2 separate regions of the Homo sapiens genome follow, and region 2 is linked to region 1. The links are contacts of gene promoters, found by promoter capture Hi-C in blood cells and fetal thymus (Javierre and others, 2016). All regions are on one chromosome and are shown on one strand. The core of a region is centred on a gene start or on the middle of the fragment in contact, and the rest is flanking DNA. Distances in the headings are between cores, read along the strand shown.

Region 1 (6,862 bases), core at 2,870-5,369:
ACTGCATTTGGAGACAGTGCCTTTAAAGAGGTAATTAAGTTAAAATGAGGCTGTTAGGATGGGCCCTAATCCAATCTTGTTGGTGTCCTTATAAGAAGAGGAAATTTGGACACACAAAGAAACGCCAGGGATGTGCACACACAGAGGAAAGGCCATGTGAGGACACAGTGAGAAAGCAGCCAGCTGCGAGTGTCTTAGTCCACTTTGTGCTGCTATAACAGATTATTGGTGTCTGGGTACTTAATAAAGAACAGAAATTTATTTCTCACAGTTCCGGAGGCTGGTAAGTTCCATGTGAAGGTGCTGGTATCTGACAAGGGCGTTCTTGCTGTCTCATCCCATGGTGGAAGAGCAGAAGGGCAAGAGGGGGCAAAAGCAGGAGACATAAGGGGGCTAAACTTGTCTTTTTATGAGAAACTCACTCCCTCAATAATGACATTAATTTATTCATGAGAGAAGAGCCTTCATGGCTTAATCACCTCTTAAAAGTCCCACCTCTTAATATCATCACAATGGCAATTAAATTTCAACATGAGTTTGCAAGGACACAAAATTCAAAACACAGCAGTAAGCCAAGGAGAGAGGCCTCAGGAGAACCCAATTATGCAGACACCTTGATCTTGGACTTCTAGCCTCCAGAACTGTGAAAAAATAGGTTTTTGTTGTTTGAGCCATCCAGTCTGTGGTATTTTGTTATGGCACCTGAACTAATTAAGACACTGTAGCCCGGAATCAGTGGCTCAGGCCTGTAATCCCAGCACTTTGGGAAGCTGAGGCAGGAAGATTGCTTGAGACCAGGAGTTCAAAACCAGCATGGACAACATGGCAAAACCCCATCACTACAAAAAACTTAAAAATTAGCCAGACATGGTGGTGCACGCCTGTAGTCCCAGCTACTTGGGAGGCTGAAGCGGGAAAATCACTTGAACCTCAGAGTTTGAGGCTGCAGTGAGCCATGATTCCACCGTTGCACTCCAGCCTGGCTGACAGAGCAAGACTCTGTGTTTAAAAAAACATACACTTAGATGCCCAGCAGCTTGACCAAATGGAAATCTATCTCTTCTTTTTCATGGAAATCATCACAGTGAATCAGAGGTTGTTGTCACCAACACCCTCACAATGGTACCTAGAGGAATCAGTGCTTCCCACAGGTGATGCATTTTTGGCTGGGCAGGATGGATTCTCTCAGGCCGGGAAGGCAGTCATATGGCAGTGGGGATGGCAACAAGCAACATCTTGCTGTAGATGTGTATTCCAGTGGCTTGCCCACAGTCCCTTTGTCAGTGGGGCAGCAGGAAAGGACCACAGGGTTTCTCAGAGAGAAGGAAGGAAGATCCTCCTTCATAAAGTCAAATCAAATTAGCCAGGCATGGTGGTGCATATCTGTAATCTCAGCTATTTAGGAGGCTGAGGCAAAAGAATCGCTTGAACCCAGGAGGCAGAGGTTGCAGTGAGCTGAGATCGTACTACTGCACTCCAGCCTAGATGACAGAATGAGACTGTCTCAAAGTAAAAAAAAAAACTAGAAAGTCAAATCAAAAGATACACCAACGGTGATGGTTTCACAGCAATGTGCATATACTTAATACAATTGAGCTAAACACTCAAAAATGATTAAAATGTGAAATTTTAGGCCAGGTGCAGTGGCTCATATCTGTAATCCCAGCACTTTGGGAGGCCAAGGTGGGAGAATCACTTGAGCCCAGGAGTTCCAGACCAGCCTGGGCAATATAGCAAGACTCCATCTCTACAAAAAAATTAATAATTAGGCCAGCTGCGGTGGCTCACGCCTGTAATCCCAACACTTTGGGAGGCCAAGGTGGGCGGATCACCTGAGGTCAGGAGTTGGAGGCCAGCCTGGTCAACATGGCAAAACCCTGTCTCTACTAAAAATACAAAAATTAGCTGGGTGTGGTGGTGGGCACCTATAATCCCAGCTACTCGGGAGGCTGAGGCAGGAGAATCACTTGAACCCAGGAGGCGGTCGTTGCAGTGAGCCAAGATCATGCCATTGCACTCCAGCCTGGGCAACAAGAGTGAAACTCAAAAAAAATTATTTAATTAATAATTAGACAAGTGTGGTGGCATGTGCCTGTAGTCCCAGCTACTTGGAAGGCTGAGCTGGGAGGATGGCTTGAGCCAGGGAGGTGGAGGTTGCAGTGAGTGGAGATCATGCCACTCACTCCAGCCTGCACAACAGAGCAAAACCCTGTCTCAAAAATAAATGATAAAATAAGATAAAATGTGAAATGTTTTAAAAAGACAAATTGAGTTATTGTTAAGAAAAGATTGAAAGCTAAATAATAATACAAAATGTTACATCCATAAAAACCATATAAAGAGTGGCATAAACCGGGCAAGGTGGCACACGCCTGTAATCCCAGCACTTTGGGAGGCCGGGGTGGGCAGATCACAAGATCAGGACATTGAGACCATCCTGGTCAACATGATGAAACCCTGTCTCTACTAAAATACAAAAAAAAAAAAAATTAGCCGGGTGTGGTGGCGCACACCTGTAGTCCCAGCTACTCAGGAGGCTGAGGCATGGGAATCGTTTGAACTTGGGAGGCAGAGGTTGCAGTGAGCCGAAATCGCGCCACTGCACTCCAGCCTGGCAACAGAGCAAAACTCTGTCACACACACACACACACACACACACACACACACACACACAGTGGCATAATTAGCACATGGTACAAAAGAGCCAAAGGAGGAGAGGGAAGTGGGGGCCAAGTAGAGTAGGAGCCTTGCTGGAAGAGGGGAATGCAAAAGGATCTTGCAGCATGGAGAGATTTTAGACATACGTTTGGAGGGAATTCAGTGCAACCCACCAGGAGAAGGGCCATGGTGTGTGACTGGCCACACTCCTAAGTCTCCTCCTCACATGTGGCAATTATCCCAATTTCCCGAAAGTCACTTTATATTAGCATTTGGCAGAGCATGTTTCTCAAGAGAGTTAACATACACTCCAGACTAAAACACAAACAAACAAACAACAAATGAAATTGAAAATGTGGTTAAACAGGTGCCTTTATTGCAGAACTTCTCAGAACCCAAAGTACATCTGTAAATCTCTCCCAGATGATTAGGTCATAGATCCTATTTTCCCAAAAGAATCTCAAAGAACTGGTATTTTGGGAAGCACCACTTTAAACCTCCCAGCTATTGCTAGTGGGTGGAAAAGGGCAGCCAACCCATGGTAAGCAGCACGGTGGAAAGTACCGAACCAAAACAGCTGTCAGGCCTGACACTGTGCCTTCAGATCCCAGGACACTTGCTAATGAGCAGCTGGGGCAGGGGACAGTGACACAGCCAGTGAATAGTATTAGGGTATGGCTGACTCCAAAAAAAAATTAAGAGTATTATTGTCTCTATGTGACCCTATGCTAAAAAACTTCACCTCACAACACCCTTATCAAGTAGACTATAAAATCACTTTCACTTCAGTGCTAAAAAGGCTGGAGTACTTTGCTTAAGGTCACACAGCTAGTGACAGAACCAGGCTTTCATCCAGTGAGGGGGATGATTCCAAGAGCACTCAAGAGTCACAGCTTAGAGCAGAAATCAACTCCAGGAAGCAGCTGGGACTGCTCTACCATCTCAAGAAGAAGAACTAGTAAGTGTCAAGGCTGAGGTGAAAGCTCAGAAGCAGATGGTTTTATTAAAAATGGGCAGAACCAAAAACTGGGCTCAGGGTAGAGAAAGATGACGCAGGGAACAGAAGCACTTGGAGGTCAAGCACAACACAGTTTAGAGACTCACAAGCTCTGTGAGTGGTCGAGAACATTCTCATGGGGCAGCTGCCAGCTATTGCTTTTCCTGCTGGCAGCGTCCGCCACAGCAGCTGGAACACACTGATGTTTCGTGTGTTCCAGCCACAACAGTGTACGGTTCTCGTGAAAACTTACCCTCAAAATAGTTGATGCTACAATTATTTGTTTTGCGGTTTTACTTACCACAGTAGGTGTATGAAATACTTGCATCGGATGAGTTGCAGACCCAATACTGCTTCTGAGCTTCAGTAAATATGGAAGAAAACAGGGTGGAAAAAAACAGAAATGGTAACATGATTCAATATCTCCAAAGCTTTACAAATGCAAAGAGGATCAGTAACTAATCATCAGACTCTTCCTTTTCAGTAAGCAGAAAAGATTTAACTTAGTCATCAGTCACATGATTTCTGAGTTCCTATCCAACTGTTTCCTCTTTTTTTGTGTGTGTGTGCTCAACATTTGAGCACTTCCTGTAAAGGAAGAGAGAAAAATGATTTAGAATGTACTCTTCAAACACTTACTGTAAATGAGAGTGATCAAAGACTTAAAAATAAAACAAGACACTTTGGCCAGGCACGGTGGCTCATGCCTGTAATCTCAGTATTTTGGGAGGCTGAGGCAGGTGGATCACTTGAGGTCAGGAGTTCAAGACCAGCCTGGCTGACATGATGAAACACATCTCTACTAAAAATACAAAAATTAGCCAGGTGTGGTAGTGCATGCCTGTAATCCCAGCTATTCAGGAGGCTGAGGCAGGAGCTTCACTTTATCTGGGAGGCAGAGGTTGCAGTGAGCCAAGATGGCACCACTGCTCTCCAGCCTGGGCAACAGAGCAAGACTCCATTTCAAAAAAATTTTTTAAATGAAAAATAAAATAAAATAAACAAGACAATTCCCAGTCAACTGTAACAAAACCAGTCCCTAGGTCCCCCTGAAAGTCTCAACAGACAGGCACTCCTTTTCCCTCTGCATTATTCTTCTCTCCTACAGCTCTGTATAACAGCAGTCCCCAACATTTTTGGCCTCAGGGATCAGTTTCATGGAAGACAATTTTTCCACGGACTGAGGGGATGGGGAGGGATGGTTTCAGGGTGAAACTGTTCCACCTCAGAACATCAGGCATTAGATTCTTATAGGGAGCACGCAACCTAGATCCCTCGCTTGTATACTTCATAACAAGGTTCCTGCTCCCATGGGAATCTAATGCTGCTGCTGGTCTGACAGGAGCTGGAGCTCAGGTGGTAATGCTCGCTCACCTGCTGTTAACCTCCAGCTGTGCAGCCCACTTCCTAACAAGCCACAACCAGATTCCTAACAGGCCATGGACTGGTACTGGTCCACGGCCCCCAGAGGATGGGGCCTCCTGCTTTATAAAACAAATTCTCAGCTGGGCACGGTGGCTCATGCCTGTCATCCCAGCATTTTGGGATACCAAGGTGGGTGGATCACTTGAGGTCAGGAGTTCAAGACCAGCCTGGCCAACATGGTGAAATTCCGTCTCTACTAAAAATATAAAAATTAGCCAGGCATGGTGGCACACACCTGTAATCCCAGCTACTCGGGAGGCTGAGGCAGGAGAATCGCTTGAACCCAGGAGGCAGAGGTTGCAGTGAGCCAAGATTGGGCCACTACACTCCAGCCTGGGCAACAGAGTGAGACTCGGTCTCAAAAACAAACAAACAGGCCAGGCGCAGTGGCTCACCTCTGTAAATCCCAGCACTTTGGGAGGTCAAGGTGGGCGGATCACCTGAGGTCAGGAGTTTGAAACCAGCTTGACCGACATAGTGAAACCCTGTCTCTACTAAAAATACAAAAATTAGCTAGGCATGGTGGCAAGTGCCTGTAGTCCCAGCTACTCAGGAGGCTGAGGCAAGAGAATTGCTTGAACCGAGGAGGTGGAGTTTGCAGTGAGCCAAGATTATGTCACTGCACTCCAGCCTGGGAGACAGAGCGAGACTCCATCTCAAAAAACAACAATAACAACAACAAATCAAATTATCATGGCCCAGAGAGCTGCACCTATAGATCTGAAGTAAACAGTCTCATGGAAACTATTTCTTTTCAGCAGCAGGTTTAGTTACAGGACAGAACAGGGCCAGATAAGACCCCAAACAGGGGACACTAGCTGTAATTCTGTGCTGTGGGCAGGGACTCCACCAGTCTTAATAATGTATTCACCTACAACAAGCTAGAGCTCAAGAGAACATTTTGAGTCCTAATAATGAAATGTCATCCTTTTGTTATGACATGTATTTCATTTCAAAACTCTCACTCCATTTTAGAAAGACAGCTATTCCTTTAGATATCTTGCTACTTGAAATCCTTTACAGGATATAGCTTAGGGTTAGCAGCCAAAAATGGCATGGAGTTTTGGCCTAAAAATCTGCACACTTAAGAAGAAAATAATCATACGTTGGTAAAAATATTTTACAACAGAAGTGTGATTTTTTCCATTTTTTTAGAGATAAAGTCTCACTGTGTTGCCCATGCTGGGGTGCAATGGCTATTCTTAGGTGTGATTATAACACACTGCAGCCTCAAATTCCTGGGCTCAGCTGGGACCACAGGTTTGAGCCGTGGCTCTTGGCCCTGCCATTTTCAAAAAGGCAAAAGTCCAAGGGAGGAGGGGGAAATGGGGAGTTGTTCAATGGGCATAGAGTCTCAAGCTGACAAGATGAAAGAGTTCTAGAGATCTGTTGCACAACAAGGTGAATATAGTTAACACCACTGAACTCTATGCTTAAAACTGGGTAAGATGGTAAATTCTTTAAAAAACACAATTTTAAAATAAATTTAAAAGATGGAAAAAAAAAAGACAACCACCCATGAACACCCTTAGTGGTCTCAAAATACCATTTCCCACTATAAGCAACCAGGACTCCTTGGAGTCTGGGGTAGAAAATGTACAAAATGAGCCTAAAACACTTTGTTATATTAGATAACCAATTTGAAGACGGTTCCACTGAGCAAAGATAGGTGTTTCTAGTTTCCTATAATGGCTGTAACAAATTGCCAAAAGATTTTGTGGCTTAAAACAACATAGGCTGGGCACAGTGGCTCATGCCTGTAATCCCAGCACTTTGGGAGGC
Region 2 (6,734 bases), core at 1,210-3,709, 330 kb before region 1:
TTCCATGCTCAAAAGTAGAAGGCAAAATTTATTGTTTTAAATGTGTGCATTATTTTATAATCTTTTAAGAAGGCCAGGGATGGTTCTCTTCAGTTTTGGAAGGTTAAAAATCGTCTCCTTTTAAAGATACTATTCATTAAACACACTCTCTTGGTTTAGAGTATTCATTATACCTAGTAATCAAAATATATATAGCACAGTAGAGGCTGTCTGTGTACATGTCGTAGAAACCCAAATAAGTCTCCAGAATGATTTTATGAATAATCTGCCTTCAGTTTTAAAATAAACTTAAAAAAAAACTTAAAACTTGGCATCATCCTGGGTGGTACTGTGGTTTTCTTCTTCTACCAAAAAAAAAAATCTAATATGCTACAGTTAGGAAGAAAAACCTTAAAAATCACTACTGAATGTCTACTCTATGCTAATAGATTTTCTACTGTCTCATATGTAACTATTTCATTAGAAAGTTCTCAATCATAAAAAGGGAGTCTAAAGCAAGTTTATTGCTGTAACTTATTTCATACAAAGGTTTTGGCCAAAATAGGAATATCACTAAAAAATTAGCTTGTTTTCTGCTGTTCTCACTAAGGAGTTAGCTTGTTTTTGTTTGCACTCTCCCCATCGCCACATGTCCATCCCTGTACACCCTGTATCAGATTCAGGGAAAATCTGATTCCGAGTTTTTTTGTGGTGACATTAAACTGGAGGAGGAAGGAAGCAGTAATTCCATGTGAGACGTATCACTTATTTTATTAGTGATTTGTGTATTACATGTTGCTGAAATAGAAACCCCCTGAATATTAACAATAAGTTAGTATCATACTCATGAAATCCAAGTCTAGGTGCCCAGAATTTTTTGTGCTAATTCTGATCTGTACTTTGTTTTTTCACTTGTCATAAAACTATTGAAAATATCTGGGAAAACACAACGTTTTGTTAACTAGATGCATACTTGCACATACCCATTCGGAGCATATAAACTGAAGTTTGGCATAGTGCAGTGCAAATTTGACTGAAACTCCTAAACTGGATGCCTTCCACTACAAGATTGTGTAGTTAAAATGACTAAATCTAAAAAATTAGCTCCCAAATGAACACAGTTTAAAACTGGTAAAAGTAATTTTTATACTTGTGAAATATGCATCTACATTTTAGGAATCAAGAGGAACTAATTAGAACTTTATTTGAGCAGCAGGGAGAAGTTGGAACCCACCTGCTTCATAAAGAAATAGGCCCTTTCTTATTCTAGGTTCATTGACTAAACTAAACCTATTTTAAATTTCAGATGAACTGCTAACAGTTTGACTGCAAATTGGTTTCTAGCAATTCTGTGGAGGAATTCTTTCATATACTGTGATTTAACAAAATAGGAGAGGAATGTGGCCAATGCTCTTGTCCCCCCCTTCCCTATTTGACAGTTAAGCAGAGACTTAAACTTTCTAATTATTGCTGTTGCCTTAAACAGCTTGGATTTTCAAGCCATACTTTTTTGGAAATTCTAAATACTGTACTAGTCTTATTTTTGGAGATAACAGTTTAAAGAAACTAGCTGTTAATTTTCCATCAGTGTTAAACATTTACCAAGATGGTATGGCTGTGTTTTAAAAGTGCAGATACTTATTGATATCAAACAGCATCTCTGCAAATTGTTCTAGCAAAATTAACTTGTCACTATAGACAAAAGTTAGGAGGATGTGATTATAGCATTCTTTTAACCAACAAAATATTAAAAATAAGGTGGTTTATTTTAGTATCTTCAAGCCAGATTGTGAAACTTTCATCCTAGAATTTAAATTTTACCTGTATAGGCAAAGGAAAAGTCAAAGTCAAAATTTCCTAATAATTCCATTCCCATTCCTGTTAAGATGGCGGTATTTGGAGATGGCCAGTATTCAATAGGAAGCTTCTTAGCCTGAAATGTTTTACATGACTATCTTATCCTCTTGAGTTAATCTTTCAGAGAAAACTGTGGGCCACCCACCTCCTCAGAAGTTCATAGATGTCAAGTTAAGACTTCACATCTACCCAGAATATGACATTTACAGTACCAGACCCACTTAGTATTTCATTGTATATCTACTATTGCCTGTGTCACATATGCCAGAATGAACAAAAAGAGAAGGTAGTCTTGAAATTGGTCAAAACCGTTGACTTGGGAGTCATTATGGTTTTAACTTTTAAGTGCAATGAAATAACCAGCCATTGTTAACACAGTTATATAAAACCACTAGCATTTTTGCCCGGTGTTTTGAAAATGAATATGTGCCATGCAATGGAAATCTGTGCATGGAAATATAAAATGCAAAGTGACTGCAGGGTAGATCTATATAATCAGAAATGGAAAGAGGTCAAGACAGACTAATCATTATTTGTTTTCTATGACATTGTGAATTGTTATGAATAACACAGAAGTAATTACATTTTAAATTTTCCAGATAGCTTCTTTTGAGGGATACTGTAAATTAAAATTTACCCTTAATTAAAGGAAATTGATTTTGAAAAGAAACTTCTAAATTCCCTAATTTAACATTCATTTCCTCCTAAGATTATTTTAAAACCTGTACCAGGTTATTTTTTAATGTCTTTGCTTATTTATTTAGTAGCAAAAAATTCACTACAAATGCTCTAGATGACAGACTATCATGAAAAAGCATAATATTTGTTGACAGAGTCATCTGGTATCAACATTTTAATAGATAGTGTCAAATATACCTTTCCTCTGAGATGAAGTCCAAAATGGTAACAGTAGAAGATTTCATCTGGCCTTACATCAGTTTCTCCAAGAGTAAAGGGTATACTTTTTAGCCACCATAGCTTTTTACCGTCAACATAGTCATCAAACACCCTCCATCCACAAACACAGACCAGAGGACACATGAGAATTTTGTGTTCTCATACGAAGTAATTCCTGCCCTCAGGGTGCTTCTAGTCTGTGGTGTGATTCACAATGCAGTGGCAGCTAGGGAAATCCATAGAGGATGCAGAGATTTGGCAAATGATACGGCACAAAGCTTTGGCCTTTTCACTTAGAAGCACAAAAATGTTAAATTACTCATTTTTTTCATAATTCACTGTATTCATAATATATATTGTGGTTGTCGATTCTCTCTTAGCTCAAAAAGGTTCACCCAAATTCAAATGATAATCCTGAATATTCAACAGTTTTGTCTACACTAAAAAAAGAGATGCTGAATGTAGCAGAAAATTTAAGACGTTCATTTGATGACTGTGTCCCAAGTATTCCGATTTAAGCCTGTATACTTCTTGGAATGTTATACTGACATAGACCTAAAAGTCATTTTTTACAGTTTTCCAGCTAAATTAGTAATATTAGAATAAAATTTACACATAGAATTCATTTCATCTTCTACTGTTTCCTTGTCTTCTTCCCAAGAGGAATTTTTGATGCATTAATTTCAGAGGAGAATGTTGTTTCCCAGTGTTCACTTTTTGTATTAGAAAGTAGTGGTTTTCCTCTGAAATACTTGCATAAAATTTTAATGAAAAGCAAAAATTATCTGACTACTAGAAAATTCTGTGCAATGACATTAAAGCCTTACACCCAAAATTACAGGGCGGGGATTCACAAGTGGATGCAAAGTATCCCCCAGGGTTGACTTGGAAATGGGTCAGATTTGACCTTGGGCAGGCCTGCGCCAGTGTGCGCTGGATGGTGCAGGTGACGGTGCAGCTCTGCCCCCGACTCACGGTGCTTTCTTGCGGTCTCTCCAAGGTACCTACCAGGGCCAGTGGGCCGGAGGCATGCGGCATGGCTACGGCGTGCGCCAGAGCGTGCCCTACGGCATGGCCACGGTGATCCGCTCACCGCTGCGTACCTCGCTGGCCTCGCTGCGCAGCGAGCAGAGCAATGGCAGCGTGCTCCACGACGCCGCAGCCGCCGCCGACAGCCCGGCCGGCACCCGCGGCGGTTTCGTGCTCAACTTCCACGCAGACGCTGAGCTAGCGGGCAAGAAGAAGGGCGGCCTCTTCCGGAGGGGCTCCCTTCTTGGAAGCATGAAACTTCGCAAGTCCGAATCCAAGTCTTCCATCTCGAGCAAGCGCAGCTCTGTCCGCAGCGACGCGGCCATGAGCAGAATTAGTTCCAGCGATGCCAACTCCACGATCAGCTTTGGCGATGTAGATTGTGATTTTTGCCCGGTGGAAGACCACGTGGACGCCACCACCACGGAAACCTACATGGGCGAGTGGAAGAACGACAAGCGCAACGGCTTCGGCGTTAGCGAGCGCTCCAATGGCATGAAGTATGAAGGGGAGTGGGCAAATAACAAGAGGCATGGATATGGCTGTACCGTGTTTCCTGACGGCTCCAAAGAAGAGGGAAAATACAAAAATAATATTCTGGTCCGTGGGATAAGGAAGCAGCTTATACCAATAAGACATACAAAAACTAGGGAGAAGGTGGACAGAGCAATTGAAGGCGCCCAAAGGGCAGCTGCCATGGCCAGAACCAAAGTGGAAATAGCAAATTCAAGGTAAGTAAATGCAGGGTGGTTGGTTTTGCTGGGTTGGTCAGAACAATGGAGTATCAAATATTATGTTTGTCTATCTGCCAGTGACATCGCTAAATGCTTTCTACAACTACTAAAAAATCAAAGGTGAAAAATGATTACACTCAGTAGAATCAAAGTCAGAAATGTACCTGCACTGTTCTGAAACTTCCCATCATCAAAAAATGTCGAAGGCACTTTGAGCTCCCCTTCCTGTTCTAAATTACTTCCCTCATATTTAACAGCGTGAGGGAGTTCACTGAGACCCTGTGCTCATCTTCCTGAGCCCGGAAAGTTGCTGTTTTCTTTTCTTTTTTTTGTAAGAAGGACCTCTGAAATGCTGCCATAGCAAGCATTGTGTTTTGTGTACCAAAAGAAAATAGCAATCCACGTAGAAACATACTTAGTATAGATGTGTACCTTTATTCTGATATTTACATCGGAGGTATGTACACTTAGCCTAGCTTATACAATTCAGATTCTGTTTATGAAGTCTTATAGGTAAAATTGGTTTTGAGACAGCCACCAAAATCTACATATGGCAAAAGTGGAAAATAACATGACAAAATCTGGCATGCATTGTTAAAAACAACAGCTACATGGGAAAGGCAAAGAGACCTACAAGAATCGCCACATTCTATGCAGAAGAGATTAGGTCACTGGTGTATTAAAAGGAAAGGGGTGGAGGGAACCTGACAACCTGACATGGACAGATGGGACTCTCAATGTGCCAAGGTTGGAAGAAAGAAGAGCAGTAGAGAAGGGCTGGAGTGAGTAGGAGAAAACCGGTGAATAATAGATTGACAAGTGGGGTGTATGTGTGGGCACAGAAGGACTACGTGCTTGAAGTTTTACCATTAATAGCTGGTTTCAGGGATCCAGCAAGAGGGATGGAAAAATCTATTGGGAATAAAGTTCTATTAGGGAAGGATATCATAGGTGAGACAAAAAGAAAAAGGTGTGGTAATAAATGGAAAATTTTATTTTTAGTCTTATTTAAGTGAGTACTGACTAGCCACAGCTTTGTAAGACTTGAAGCATAAATGTAGCATAGAATATTAAAAATCCTGTTTCTGCTTCAATAACACTCTTCCACAGAAGTAAACGCCCTTTTGAAACCACAAAATGTTAGCATGTCTTCAGGTTTTTGTTATTGGCATTGAATTAATGAACCTCCCTTTTTTTTGATGGAGCCATATGAAATTTCCAATGTTCAAATTTTTTAATGTACAAAAAAAAATGGTGACATCATATGGTTCAACTTAGTACTTCTAGAGTTCTTTTTTTTTTAATTCCTCTACTTAAAAAATAAGTAGGGCTACCACTAAATAAGGTTGCATATTTTGCATTACTTTTAGATATATATTATATTATATATTAAAAGTCTTCAAGGTTTTCATCTTTATCCCAAACTAATTTCATTTCAAAGCTATTATTTTTTGTTGATCAGCACAAACTTTAATGAAGGGTCTCTCTCTCTCCTGTCTTCTCTACCAGGCATCTTTTACTTCAGATCACAGTTTTGGATCTACTTTGCTTTTCAGTTTGCTTATAGATCAGATACTCAGCACATCTAATCTTGCTGGCTTACTTTTAGACCTAGTGATAAACATTTGTTAGGCCTTGACCTCTAATTTTAAATGCACACTTGGATTCTTCCATGTTTTCTTGTTACAACTTAGTGACATGCTAAAGTCAGCTCAGTCTTGGGAGGTGAAAAATGAACCTGTGCAGAACACTTTAACAAACGACTTATCATTAGTTTCCATTGGAGGAGTTTGTATAACAGAAAGCGACTGGCAATGCAGAGATGATCTCTGATTATGCTAGTATCATAAAACCCTCACCCAAGTCCTAGCCATGTTCTCTCTGTTGCAAGTCTTTTGGGGGTAGTATTATTTCATTTGGGAATACTGTATTATATAGTTATAATCAAGAGATCTTTAGTTTAAGACCTTATACTTTTAGCCAGTTAGTTACTTCATAGTTACTTAGCTATGTTTAAAATGCTTAATTCATTATGCAAATGAAAGAAGTCAGTCACAGAAAAACAAATACTGCATGATCTCACTTAATCAAATACTGCAATGACCTGACTTGATCTAAAATGGTCAAACTCATAGAAACATAGAGTAAAATGGTGGTCGCCAGGGACTGTAGGGTGGGGAAAATGGAGGGTTGCTGTTCAACAGATACGAAGTTTCAGTTACTCAAGATGAATACATT

What was found. Contacts are between HindIII fragments. The CHiCAGO score rates a contact against its expected background, and 5 or more counts as called.
Region 2: a fragment that was not itself captured here is called in contact with the fragment with the promoter of LY96 in region 1 in 1 of 17 cell types (fetal thymus); the score reaches 5.1 in fetal thymus.

Annotation. Positions count from the first base shown.
Region 1 is chr8:73,988,649-73,995,510 of GRCh38, reverse strand. LY96 (lymphocyte antigen 96) reads right to left here and starts at 4,119. Exons shown (of 5, transcript NM_015364.5): 1 at 3,957-4,119. The coding sequence starts at 4,068. RefSeq lists enhancers at 3,338-3,407, 3,778-3,877. The HindIII fragment of the contact is 3,298 bases long and covers 4,089-6,862 here.
Region 2 is chr8:74,312,620-74,319,353 of GRCh38, reverse strand. JPH1 (junctophilin 1) reads left to right here. Exons shown (of 6, transcript NM_020647.4): 2 at 3,734-4,493. Among named protein-coding and RNA genes, the nearest start is that of JPH1, 5.6 kb to the left of the region's middle. The HindIII fragment of the contact is 1,108 bases long and covers 1,906-3,013 here.